5 separate regions of the Homo sapiens genome follow, and all the other regions are linked to region 5. Evidence: promoter capture Hi-C in 16 types of primary human blood cells and fetal thymus (Javierre and others, 2016). All regions are on one chromosome and are shown on one strand. Each heading gives the region's core, a stretch centred on a gene start or on the middle of the fragment in contact. The rest is flanking DNA. Distances are from core to core; before and after follow the strand shown. Region 1 overlaps LRRC7 (leucine rich repeat containing 7). Region 2 holds the start of LOC124904199 (a long non-coding RNA gene). Region 3 overlaps LRRC7 (leucine rich repeat containing 7). Region 4 overlaps LRRC7 (leucine rich repeat containing 7). Region 5 holds the start of RPE65 (retinoid isomerohydrolase RPE65).

Region 1 (2,700 bases), core at 101-2,600, 1.3 Mb after region 5:
ATTTGTGTACTGTTTTTTTAAAGCTGCAAGACTAATCTAACTAGCCTGATTATAGAAGGATTTGAAAGTCAGGCAGAGGAGATAAGATTTAATGATGCAGGAAATAGACAATAATTGAGTTTCTGAGGCAGGAAGCAGGAACACAGCATGGTGTCATTATCACAGTGTGGTAGAGTATGGGATTTATGTCAGACTTTCCTGTATTGGAATTCTGTCCCCACCAGTATGGCCACAGCTTCCCACCCATTAACGAAGAACACACTACCTATGTCATAGAGATGTTTTTATTCATTGATTCAACAAATCTCAAGTGGTTCCTACTTTGTATTTGATGTTGATGAATAAAATAAATTCGGTTCTGGGCCTTATGATGCTCACAGTCTAATGACAAATACAGAAAATATACAAAAAAGGATAAAATTACCAGTAAACAATTGTGATAAGGAATCAGAAGGAAAGAAACAAGTTTTAGAGTGTGGTAGGATGTGTCTTTAAGTTGAGCAATAAGGGAATTAAGGGTCTAAAATGATGATGATTAATGAGGAATAAATAAAAAAAAGTTTCTGTAGCTGTTGAGAATCCTCCCATGTCCATTTGATCCTTGTTATTCCAGTCATGCCATGGCATGTAAGTGCAGACACTGTCATATCTGCCTGAGAACAGTCTTTCGGCTTGTGTTCAATGCAGCCTGTAAGTACAGAGGAGAGAATGCCCCCAGATGCAGCCTTCCATTATTGACAGATGGGAGTAGAAGAATAAATAGCCAACCCTCTTCATCCCTCTGCTGAGTCACCCTGAGGCATATTCCACAGTGTCTGTCAGCATCTGCCCGCAGAATAGAGCCTCAGTTACCCAGATTGGTAATCTGCTTTATTACGCGCCAATTTCTGGCTTCCTTTCCTTCCCTGTTTTATTTCTTTACTCTTTTATTGGTGTTTCCTGGTATTCCCTCCCAAAAAAATTATTTATTCTCAACTCTGTCTCAGGCAGTCTGAGGCAGGGGAAACCAACCTGATAAAGATATAATCTCTAATCACCTAAGATAATATCTAGAATAAAATATGCATTCAGTAAATGCTAATTTTCCTTTTCCTCACTCTTGTTTCCTTGCCCCCAAGTCAAACATGCATAATAAAAATGTTTTAGAAAGTCATCTCTAGACTAGATTATAGTCTTGGAGGTAGGTAAAGTTAGAGTCATAGAGACTTGTGAGGAAGCAGACTCTTGCTTTAGAACTAATGAAGTGCAATAAAGACCCAGACAGACCAAGGTGAGATGCAGATTTCATTTTGTTATAATGGTCAGTTTATGACTCCTCTGTATCCTTCACTGCACATTATATACTCTGCTGGACCACATGGTTCTAACGGGTGGTATAAGAGAGTACTCATTTTGCAAAGAAACCCTTGAGTATCCTTTATATACACTATTAGGCTAACAAAAGTAGGCTGAGAGATCAGTCATGTTCAGTAAAATTGGTCAGAGCTTCACCAGTCCTTCTGCCTTATCTGGCATTCTTAGAAGTACCAAGTGGAAATGTAGAAGGGCCTCTGATGTCCATCAGCACCCTTAAAGCCACAATATATACGTATGACACATAAAACCTAAGTAAAAACAATGTGTTTGCTATATATATAAGTGAATTTTCAAGTCAAGTATTTCTGTCTTCTCTTCCAATTCATTTCCCACCTTTAAGCTATCCTTCAACAGTCCCTATTGGATGTTGTAAAATTTAAAAATTAATTTCCTACCACAGTCTACAAGGACTGATCTCCCCCATCTATTACTGAAACCCCCTCCTTCATGCTTATTAGGCTTAGGCATACTGACCATCGAGTTCCTTAAAATATACCACATACCTTAGTGCCTTTTTGAACGTTGTTTCTTCTCCCAGAATTTTCTTCCTTTAGGTGTTCACTAAACTGTTACCACCTCATTGAGGTCTTTATCTGAGAAGATATGTCAGTTAGTTATTAGTGTAATAGTGTGTATATCAATAACAAAATTTCTGTGGTATGCAATTCTAAACATCTATTTAGGCCAAATGTGTGAGCATTGGTTGGGGGCCTGATGGTAAGGATAGACTTCACTCAGTGGTTGTGCTGATCTCATATGGGCATGTTCATGTCTGGAGGTCAGCTGATCTAAGGAGTCTCTGTTGGTACAACTCTGCTCCATATGTCGCTCATATTCCTCCTAGGGCCAGTGGGCTAACCTGGACAGGTTTCTTTTATAGCCTTTATGTGTGGCAGAAATGGAACAATGTGAGCAGAAACACACAAGACCTTTTAAGGGATAAATTGAGAACCGGTCCACCATTACTTCCACCTATTTTATTGACTAAAGCAAGTCACAAAGCCAAACCCAACCAACATCACTGGTATATTCCTTCTATGAAAATAAGGGAGGGATTAAATATTTCTGAAATATTATCCGATCTACTACAAAAAGGCTTCCCTGTTACTTCAGTTCAGAGCACTCAGATTGTTCCCTTCAAAGCAATTGTATTTTCTGTAACTATTTGATTAGTGTCTGTCTTGCTCATGAAACTTTGTATTAGACAGGAAAGAATAGACTATGCAGTGGTAAGAAATTAAACTCCAAAATTAAACTCCAAAATAACATAGTAAAGTTTATTTCTCCTTCATGTCACAGTTCAGTGCAGATTGAGAGGCTCTCATTTGTAGCTATGCCAACTGG
Region 2 (2,700 bases), core at 103-2,602, 1.3 Mb after region 5:
AGCTCCATGTTTCAAGTGAGGAGGTAAGCATGCTAGTAGCATTGAACTGAGACAGGATTGTATCCTAATTCGATTCTGCCATTCCAAAGCTGTGTGATGATGGGAAATCTCTCGCACTTTTTGAGCCCATTTTCGAATTTGCTAGATGGGAATAAAACCTATTTCACGTACTTCGCAGGGCTGTTTAAGGATTTAATGATACAATGCGTGTGTGTGTCCTACTTTAAAGTATTCTAGACTGTATACCAAAATTAAATTTCTAAGCTTTAAATATTACAAGAATGCCTTCCAAGGGCACTGGATAAGCTGTTTTGTTTTGTTTTGTTTCTGCGTTTCTCTAGTGCAGTGCCTGGAGATGACCACCAAACGGAAAATCATCGGCCGTCTGGTGCCATGCCGATGTTTCCGAGGTGAAGAAGAAATCATCTCAGTTTTAGATTACTCCCACTGCAGTCTTCAGCAGGTGCCAAAGGAGGTCTTTAACTTCGAACGAACATTAGAGGAGCTTTATCTAGATGCCAATCAAATTGAAGAACTACCCAAGGTAACTTTTGACAACCTAAAATATACAATGTAAATGAGTATTTCATAATTTTCAAATACTTTATTATAATGGTAATGTGAACTATGGGCTCCTATCTAGGTAACTGACAAGTCATTGAAATTGATATAACTTCCCCCAATATTCTCATTACCTTTTAATGTTACTCCATTTATGATTTCACGGGCCTCTGTTAATAACAAATTGAGCTCTATGGAAACCACCATTTGATGGATTATGCCTCGTTATCTTCATTTAAAATGACCTCTATAAAAATATAGAGTAGAGGGTTGAGATCAATAGTTTATGTTTAGAAAGAAAGGAAAAATATGACACTACTCCAGAACTGAAAATTTCTATGTTGTATATTAAGGTGACATTATATTACAACCTTGAATTGTATGCTGTAAGTCTAAGAAATGCTTTTACACACATTAATGCTATTATGAAAAACATGTTTTTGTACCTGTATGTAAAATATTTGATTATTACAAGTAGCACTGGATGTATGTGGCATAAAACTAGTAAAAAGTTTACTAGGAATTTGAAACTATCAAACTTTGTGCACATACACACACACACACACACACACGTGCACACCTGCACACACACACACTGCCATTATGGCATTGTGCCATGCAAAGAAAACCAGGTCTCCTGTGACCTTAGTCCTTATTGCAGAAAAGACTGGATGATAAGAGATTAGCTAAAGCAGACCAAGACCACACAGCAGAGAAGTTCAAAATCTAAATCAAGGGATCCTAACAGTCACCTAAGTAAGTAACCCAGATTAAGTAGTTAGCATGGTATTTACCTGTGAAGGATTTATACGGCTGAGAAGGGAAAAAAACGTCATGCACTCAATTTCTGTTGCTTATGCTAAAAAGTAAAAATGTATATTAAATATGCAGTAATCAGAAAAAGAATCTTCCACAATAAAAACTTGAAATTAATTATCAGAATCTGATATTTCAATATGCTGATCAAAATAAATTATGAATAATTATTTTTATTTAAAGTTATAAATTATCATTTGCCGGCCTTTTGGCTAAGATCAAATGTAGAATTATAAATTGTGCTGTTTACATAACACTTCAAAGTTAAGAACTTTTTAACATGTACTTCAAAAACAATATACTTCATTTTTGACAATCTGTGTATTGTGTCATCTGGGATATTTCCTTAGATGACACTATACACAGGTATAGTGTATTTTTTAGAGGTAGGTCAGGCCTATAAAAAATATTATTGACTACATGGATTCACACTAGGATTGCACATCAACTAAAGCCTGGAGTGAAATAGACTGTCTGTTGTACCAGATGAGGAACTACTTAAGGGCAAAGATGGCACCGTATTCATCTCTGTTTCCTGGTACATGGGCAGGCATGATGAATTTCACATAATAGATACTGAGTCTCTGTTGTCCCTGACTGAGAGAACAATGCAGAGAACTTCATATGCCACAGGACTTGATTAGCAAAAGTATATAAGTTTGCATAAGTCATAAATGTGGTAACCCATTCTAATTTAGGAAAATAGGCATGGGGGGTGGCGGGTTTCTAGGTCAGGCCAATCTAGGATTGCCAGAAAGAAATAGAGGACACCCAGTTATATTTTACTTTTAAATTCAGAAACAGACAACATTTTTGTAAAATTATGTCCCAAATTTTGTATGGGATACATTTACACTAAAAAAATTTTTTTTATTTACATGATGTTCAAATTTAACTTATCATCCTGTATTTTTATTTGCTAAATCTAGCAACCCTAGGCCAATCTGGTCATTTTAAATCTTTTTCCATTTCTATGCAACAAATTTTGTAAGATAGGTAGTAAAAACATGGTTAATTTATCAAGCAAGTATTTATTTAATATCCATTCTACTACACAGTACTTGAAGCTTTAGGGAGGTTACAAGAGAAATAAATCTCGATCTCTGCCCTTCCGGATCTGACAACCTAATTACAGAGAAAAACTGAAGCATTAGAGGCAAGTGCTCGGTGATGTATAATCGGAGCCAAAGAGCCAAGTACCATTGTAGAGCGTATGTATAGAGAAGAGCTCCATTTTTGGAGAAGTAAGGGAAGAACTTGACCAAAAAGCACAGATGGAAAATTTAAGATGCATCAAGAGTTGAAGGGAGCAGAGTTGTGAAG
Region 3 (2,700 bases), core at 86-2,585, 1.3 Mb after region 5:
GCACAGGGCACCAAGTCCTGAAGCTGCACACAGCAGGGGGCCCTTGACCTGGCCCAAGAAACCATTTTTCCCTCCTAGGCCTTCAGGCCTGTGATGAGAGGGGCTGCCATGAGGGTCTCTGACATCCCTGGAGACATTTTCCCCATTGTCTTGGTGATTAGTATTTGGCATCTGGTTACTTATGTAAATTTCTGCAGTGGGCTTGAATGTCTTTCCAGAAAATGGGTTTTTCTTTTTTACAGCGTTGTCAGGCTGCAAATTTTTTAAACTTTTATTCCCTGCTTCCTCTTAAGTGCTTTGCTGCATAGAAATTTCTTCCATCAGATACCCTAAATCATCCCTCTCAAGTTCAAAGTTCCACAGATCTCAAGGGCAGGGACAAAATGCCACCAGTCTCTTTGCTTAGCAAGAGTGACTTTTACTCCAGTTTCCAAGTTCCTCATCTCCATCTGAGACCACCTCATCCTGCACTTTATTGTCCATATCACTATTAACATTTTGGTCAAAGCCATTCAAGTTTCTAGGCAACTCCAAACTTTTCCACATCTTCCTTTCTTCTGAGTCCTCCAAGTCTCTAGGAAGCTCCAAACTTTTCCACATTTTCCTATCTTCTTCTGAACGCTTCCAACTGTCCCAACCTCTGCCTATTACCAGTTCCAAAGTAGCTTCCACATTTTCAGCTATCTTTAGAGCAGCTCCCCACTACCTGGTGCCAATTTACTGTATTAGTCTGTTCTCATACTACTAATAAAGATATACCTGAGACTAGGTAATTTATAAAGGAAAGAGCTTTAATTGACTCACAATTCAGGGCTCAGGAGGCCTCAGAAAACTTACAATCATAACAGAAGGGGAATCAAGAATATCTATCTTCACATGGCGGCAGCAAGCAGTGCCGAGAAAAAGGGGAAAAAGCTCCTTATAAAACCATGAGATCTCGGCCGGGTGCAGTGGCTCACACCTGTAATCCCAGCACCTTGGGAGGCTGAGGTGGGCGGATCATGAAGTCAGGAGATAGAGACCATCTTATGCTAATGCAGTGAAACCCCATCTCTACTAAAAATACAAAAAAATAGCCGGATGTGGTGGCGGGCGTCTGTAGTCCCAGCTACTCGGGAGGCTGAGGCTAGAGAATGGTGTGAACCTGGGAGGCTGAGCTTGCAGTGAGCCAAGATCACGCCACTGCACTCCAGCAAGACTCCATTACCCCCACCCCCAAAAAAACCATGAGACCTCATGAGAACTCACTCACTATTACAAGAACAGCAGCATGTGGGTAACTGCCCCCATGATTCAATTACCTCCCACCAGGTTCCTCCCACAATATGTGGGGATTATGGGAACTACAATTCAAGATAAGATTTGGGTGGAGATATAGCCCAACCATATCAAGTATAAACTTACTATTGTTTTACCAAAATGTGGAAGAAACACAAGAAAATGTGCTTATTTGGAGGATGCTAACAGGAAATAAACTGTTCCTAACTTAGCCCTCTGAAAAAGAGAATGATAAATGTATTTAGACATCCTCTTCAAAGGTAACTTTTTGTTTGCATTGTACATTTGAAAGGTGTTCACTTTGCTATTGCAGAACCAATTTGAAAAACATTATCTGGGACAAAATGTTCAATGTCCAAAGTATTAAAAGGTGTCTCCATCTATGAAAGTTAGCAAATCTATACAAGGATTCTCTATTGATGAATTTTGAAAGAGGGAGAATATCATTAGATGTTCTGGGCAGTTTATAAGCACTTATGAAATAGGAGCTACATTATTACAAGATCTTGCTTATTATTAGTGAGAAGTTATCTGGGTACTTCCAAGTAAAATGTGAAAATGTCCTCTCTACTGTCCCTAAATTTTCCCCTTATAGAACAAAAATAACATGTTTATTGCTAACTAGTTAATATATTTAAAATACTAGACAAAGTGTTTTGCTTGATTTCTTTTATACCAATGGAACGATTATTTGAGCCATTCAGTGCCTAGAACATGAAATAAAAAAGGAAAACAGACTCTCGATTAAAAAAAGTATTACATGTTACAAAAGTAATTCCAATTTAGTAGTAATAATAATTAGCTAGTTTTTAAAATACTGACTTTATTTAAAAATGTCTGGAAGATAACTTCAAGAAAAAGCTAAATATTTTTTTAAATAAAGGAAATACTTAATACTAGGGCAAAAAAAGATTTTTTAAAGGTTGTTTAGAATTTTTTAAAGTTCGATAGATTTACACAATCTAATGAAAAATAGGGAAAAAAAATACATACAGCTAATTGCTCAAGGAAAGATGAACACTGTTATGACTAAAATATGCAGTCAGTGAGAAATTCCAAAAGCTCTGGTCAGGTTTTAAAAAAGTCCCTGAAAACTTAGAAATAAAGGATCCAATAGTTTTCCCAAATTCACAGAACTTTAAAAGAGCAATTATTTAAAGGCCAGTATGTTAACATTCTGTTGCAAGAGAATTTTTTTTAAGTTTCATATGGACAAGCAGGGACAATAATCTAGAAAGATTAGATTTAAGTAAATATAATAATAAAGTCCCATACTGAAGAAAACAGAATTCTTCAATCCTCAATTGGGCTTTATATATACTTGCAATATTTGGATTCTAAATTTTGAGAAAATGAAGAGTTCATCTGTCTCCTTTTTATATACAAAAATATTTTAGTTTACTTGAACTAAAAATTAAATGT
Region 4 (2,700 bases), core at 71-2,570, 1.2 Mb after region 5:
AAGGAGTAAAAGGAAGGAAAGAAAGGCATAAGGAAAGAAAAAGAGAAAGGGAGAAAAAGAGAGTTGGAAGGAAGGTGAAAGAAGGGGAGGGAAGGCCAAGCTTTTGATTCTGGAACAGATGGCATAGACTCACCTTTCCTGATACTCAATTCTAAATGAAGCTAAACACTCTGGAAAAATTCTTCAACAGACCATTTTGAAAGGACTCTGAAAGCTTCAGAGAAGAAGGCAAACTGACTAGGACAACAGGACTTGAAGAAAGACATCATGGTATGCTTCTTGCATTTTCTTTTTATCTCCTATACATCCCTGGACTGCATACCAGAGAGGCTTGCAATCTGGTACTGTCAACAGGCATGAAGAAAAGAAGGAAAAAAAAAGCAAAGCCTACTCGCTCAGTCCAGAGGACCAAGAGAGAGAAAAACAACAGAGGTTTGGAAGAGAGCCACCGATATCTTATTCTATAATCCCAATCGACAGGCAGTTCAATTCACCTGCAGAAACAGAACAGTAAGGCCCCAGGCCATCCCTGCTCTGCTCTCCCTGGTGGGCAGACCTATCTGGTGGTAATGGTGGCAGCAGTAAAGCCCTGTGTCTTCCTATCTTTCACCCAGTGTCATAAAGAGACCCAGGCTCAGTGGCTTCTGTGCCTTCCCAGAGGTTTACCTAGGAATATTAGAGAATCCAGAGCAGCACTTTTAACTCTAGCGGATGACACCAGCAGAGTTTTAGCAGAAGCCCCGACAGTGCCAGAAGAATGAAGCAGACCAGATCAGCATTAGCATTATAAAAAATCAGAACACTAACTGCCATTGGAACTAAAGCCCACAAAATTAGTCCAAAACCTATAAGCTAAACCTAAACAGGATACATACCTGCTAAAATAAAAGGTTTCAATAGGGTTAAAAGTCTCCTAACATAATAATCAAAATATTCAAAATGCAGTTGACTGTAACCCATCATACCATGAACCAGAAAAACCACAGTCTGACAAAAGACAATCCACTGACCCCAATACTAAGACAAATTAGATAATGGAATTTCTGAGAAGGAGACTGAAGCATCCATCATAAGAATGCTTCAGGAGACAATTATATAATCTCTTGAAACAAGTGAAGAAAAACAGAAAATCTCAGGGGAAAAAAAAGAAGTTATAAAAAAGAACCAAATGGAAATTATGTAACTGAAAACCAAAATTACCAAAATAAAAATATCACTTAATTGAATCAATAGTAGAGTGAAAATTACAGAAAAGAGATTAAATGAATATGTAGATTAGTGGAATTTACTCAATATGAACAACAAGGAGAATATACACTAAACAAAAATGAACAGAACCTCAGGGATTTGTGGAAAAATAATAACATATATAATATTTGTATCATCAGAGTCCCAGGAGAGGAGAAGGAGTATGGGACAGAAAAAGTATTTGAAGAAGTAATGGTTGCAAACTTCTAAAAGTTGACAAAAGACGTAAATCTAGATATTCAAGAAGCTGGGTCAACTCCAAAGAAGATAAACCAAAAAAAAAAAATCCACAACAGGACATTTCATAATTAAACTTGTGAGAACCAAAGATAAAGAAAAATATTTAAAACAGCCAGAGTGCAATAACACATTACATATAAAGGAACAGAAATAACACATTACATATAAAGAAGCATCAATTAAAATGACAGTATATTTTCATCTGAAACCACAGAGGCCAGAAGGAAATGACATACAAGATTTTCAAGTATTATAAGAATTGTCAACTCTGAATCCTATATCCAACTAAACCATCCTTCAGCAATGAAGGAGAAATAAAATCACTCTCAGCAGAAAGAAAACTGAGAGAATTTGTTGCTAACAAACCTTCCCCAACACAATGGCTACACAGAACTCTCCAAACACAAAGGAAAAGTTTAACAAAAGAAGACTTGTACCTTCAGGAAGTAAAGAACAGTAGAATGAATAAAAACAGAAGTATGAATAATAGAATTTTCTTTACCTTATGTTTCATGGTTGAAGCAAAAACTATAATACCATCTGATGTGGTGCACATGTATGTAGATGAAATAAGTCAATTAATATTTAAAAAGTGGAAAGGGTAAAGGGACCTAAATTGATATAAGGTTTCTCTACTTCACTTGAAATGGTATAACACTGATACCAGTAGACTGTGATAAGTTACGTATATTGTAATACCTAGAGCAACCACTAAGAAGACTACAAAATAATACACTCAAAAACATTATAAGTAAATCAAAGGTGAACTAAATATACTCATGTAACCTAGAGGATGTGAAGGAAAAAGAAACATAGAAACAAGAAACCAAGAGAACAGAACAGAAAACAAATAATAAAATTAGATGTATTAGACTTAAGTCCTAATACATCAATAATTACATTAAGTGTAAATGGTGTAAATACCATGGTTAAAAGACAAAGCTTGTCAGATTAGATAAAAAAGAAAGACCAACTATATGTTGCTTATAAAAATGTCCTTTAGATGCAAAAATAAAAAAAAGGTTAAATATAAAGGGATAGAAAAAGAAATACCATGCTAAATTATTTAAATGAAAGCTAGAGTGACTATATTAATATCAAGATAAAGGTAACTTCAAAGCAAAACATATTACAAGGGATAAAAAAGGTCAGTTCATCAAGAGGACTTAATAATCATGAAATTGTATGTATTCGATTTAATTTTACAAATAT
Region 5 (2,700 bases), core at 1-2,500:
ACCCTGAAATGGTGGAAGAATAAGGAAGAAGCCCATGTTGATGCTCAAAGTCCGCAGAGATAGAGGCAGAGCTGCAGGAGAGAAGGCACTCTAGGGCTGGCTCAAAGCCTGTTCACTCCTGCCGGTCTAGTCTCAGCTGGGTGGGGGTGGGGGTGGGGGGAGAAGCGAAGGTGAGGGCGGGAGGAGCACGTGAGGCTGGGGGTGGGGAAGACTACTCAGGTATGGAAGGGGGTCCCAGATCACTGCTCTGATGTCAAGAGACATGACCTCTCTTTTAATGTCAATGGTTACAGTGAACTTAATCCTGTCCTCTGCAGTTTTTCCTTACTTCGGAAGACAAATCAATCAATCCTACTGCCATCAGTTCACTTCCTGAAATTTGTTCCTAAACAGGGTCCTTCCCACAGTATTCTCCCACCCTATCAACATGCTCAGCTCACAGCATCATTGATTTTCTTGCCTCAAGGAGAGACCCATTTATCTCCTTCCTAGGGGTTGAGAGATGACAGCTTTTTGGGTCAGGTACCTCATCTTTCATTATTCACTCATATTATACCATAATTTTTTCCCCATCATCTCATTTCTCTACCAATCCCCAAGACCTACAGTACTTTTTCATCATAGTCAGACCAGGAGATTCAGGTTCTATATTTTTGTTTACTTTCTACATCCTCTGTTCAGTTTCATGTTGTAACTTCAAAGAGTGGAATCTCTGACCAGACTCAATTATAATAATTACCTTTTACTAAACAATTACTATGTCCTACATACCATAAAAAGAACTTTGCATGGTATTATCTCTTTTAAATCTCACAGTAACATAATGGAGTAAAAGCTATTGTGACATCTTTCTATATACAGGAAAAGCTAGACTTAAAAAGTTAGGTAATTTGTCCAAAGTCACACACTAGGAAATGACTGGGCAAGGAGTGGAGCCCAAGTCTGTCTGAAATCCCCATACTCAAGACTGCTTCCAAACCCCGGGCTAAGTCACACAAACCCCCCATAATTTGGACCTGAATTCTAGCTAGTTGCTTTAATACATAAGCAGGAAAAAATTTCCCCACCAAAATTCAAGGGTCTTTCCTAAACAGGTCATTAATCAATGCCTTCTCTTCAGGAGCCCTTGAAATAGCACATTTATCATGAATCCATGAAGGTGTTTTAAAAAAGTCTCCCAGAGATACTTACTGGATAGACATTTTCTTCCAGTTCAGGATCCAGAGTTCTGGCACCAACTGCAGAATGAAGAAGGAAGTTCTCAGCCAGGGGCCTTTTTATGCCTTCTAAATCCCTTAAAAGGAGTTATGGCTTTGGGAGCCCTTCCCCACCCCTTCAGCTGAGGGAGGGGGAACAGAAGTTGCTTTCAGCTCTCAGATCCCCCTGATGCTTGGCTTTATTTGGGCTTGCTGTTCCCATAACAGTTGTTTGGCTGTTTTCCAGAGACCTCAATCCTTCCCAAGGAGAATGAGAACAGATTAGAAAGAAAGGAGCTAGGTGGGAGTGGCCAGCGTCAGGCCTGAGCTGATCCCAGTCACCCCACTGGACCTTGGCACCATTCTCTGGGGCCCACCTCCCCCTAATACCTCTGTGCCTTCATTCTCACCCTCATTCATTAACTCACTTATTTTTAAAAATATCTATTACATACCACCTATGAACCAGACAGAGATGGGTATTGTCCCTGTCCCTGTCTTCACAGATCTTATAACTCTGTAAGAGTTATAGTAAACAAAGTATTCAACCATGTTTGATTAGTGCTAAGATTGGAGAAGTATAAAATGTTATGGAAGCACATTGTGCACCTCTAACCCTCTCTAGCAACCTTATTGATACCATTCAGTGCCAATATTCTTCCAACCAGGTTGAGGACTTTTGATTTGCTGAGAATGAAATTCTGCATATCTTTGCTTGTCACTAATGCCTGTCTGCTCTCTGCCTCACCTTCTTGTCCATTGGTATATGTTTGGCACTCTGAGAGTATACAGCATCAATTCATTCATATCTCCAATACTCTTTCATTAAGTCTCAGTTGCTTGCCAGCACAGACAAGGTACTGCCCAAAGAAGTCCTTGGAAAACAGGCAAGATATATACTATACCAGCTAACAACCTTAACATTTTTTTTGAGAAACTCATTAACAATTTTAAATTTAGTGTGCAGTTATGGCTACTTACCCTAGGGGTCTTCTTCAACAAAACTGTATAACAATTAATCCAAGTGCTTCCCAAGATATACAACAGTAGCTTCATTTCCTTACAGTGAGGGCATAGGCATGTGATGGGCTCCACCCGTTAGGGACAGTGGTAGAAGTCCTAATGGTAGCACCTGGGGCTTAGCATCCATAATATCTCTGCCCATCCAAGGCAGTTGTAGTGTCTCCATTCAACAGTGGAGCCCGGAATATTGTTACTGGCTGGGTAGCCTCCAAGCTCCATCCTTTAGCCATCCCAGAGATTGTTAGCTCTCTAATATTTACAATATTTGCGTTCTGCTTTATTAGAGTTAGTTCCATTATTTGCAGCTAAGAGCCCTATGCCTATAAAATGATGGTAGTATAAGATACTACCATCATATTTTGGGGGGTATAATCACTTTTGTTGGATCTTGGAGAGTAATAGAAGAGGAGATTAATATCTATCTTTCCACATTAAAAGACCTGTTTCCAAAATATTTCAAATAAGAAACTTCTCCTCAAAG

Evidence for each region. Contacts are between HindIII fragments. The CHiCAGO score rates a contact against its expected background, and 5 or more counts as called.
Region 1: a fragment that was not itself captured here is called in contact with the fragment with the promoter of RPE65 in region 5 in 2 of 17 cell types (M2 macrophages and endothelial precursors); the score reaches 6.8 in M2 macrophages.
Region 2: a fragment that was not itself captured here is called in contact with the fragment with the promoter of RPE65 in region 5 in 1 of 17 cell types (M2 macrophages); the score reaches 5.9 in M2 macrophages.
Region 3: a contact is called between a fragment that was not itself captured here and the fragment with the promoter of RPE65 in region 5, in 7 of 17 cell types (M2 macrophages, M0 macrophages, M1 macrophages and 4 more). The highest score is 17.7, in M2 macrophages.
Region 4: a contact is called between a fragment that was not itself captured here and the fragment with the promoter of RPE65 in region 5, in 1 of 17 cell types (M2 macrophages). The highest score is 5.0, in M2 macrophages.

The regions. Positions count from the first base shown.
Region 1 is chr1:69,706,573-69,709,272 of GRCh38, forward strand. All of the region lies in intron 2 of LRRC7 (leucine rich repeat containing 7), which reads left to right. Among named protein-coding and RNA genes, the nearest start is that of LRRC7, 140 kb to the left of the region's middle. The HindIII fragment of the contact is 5,159 bases long and covers 1-2,700 here.
Region 2 is chr1:69,759,850-69,762,549 of GRCh38, forward strand. LRRC7 (leucine rich repeat containing 7) reads left to right here. Exons shown (of 27, transcript NM_001370785.2): 3 at 342-544. LOC124904199 (a long non-coding RNA gene) reads right to left here and starts at 959. Exons shown (of 2, transcript XR_007066167.1): 1 at 696-959. The HindIII fragment of the contact is 2,180 bases long and covers 263-2,442 here.
Region 3 is chr1:69,730,081-69,732,780 of GRCh38, forward strand. All of the region lies in intron 2 of LRRC7 (leucine rich repeat containing 7), which reads left to right. Among named protein-coding and RNA genes, the nearest start is that of LRRC7, 160 kb to the left of the region's middle. The HindIII fragment of the contact is 3,762 bases long and covers 1-2,700 here.
Region 4 is chr1:69,684,378-69,687,077 of GRCh38, forward strand. All of the region lies in intron 2 of LRRC7 (leucine rich repeat containing 7), which reads left to right. Among named protein-coding and RNA genes, the nearest start is that of LRRC7, 120 kb to the left of the region's middle. The HindIII fragment of the contact is 2,216 bases long and covers 213-2,428 here.
Region 5 is chr1:68,448,704-68,451,403 of GRCh38, forward strand. It overlaps RPE65 (retinoid isomerohydrolase RPE65), which reads right to left and starts at 1,251. Exons shown (of 14, transcript NM_000329.3): 1 at 1,192-1,251; 2 at 1-3. The coding sequence starts at 1,202. LOC124904198 (a long non-coding RNA gene) reads left to right here. Exons shown (of 2, transcript XR_007066164.1): 2 at 1-2,700. The HindIII fragment of the contact is 10,150 bases long and covers 1-2,700 here.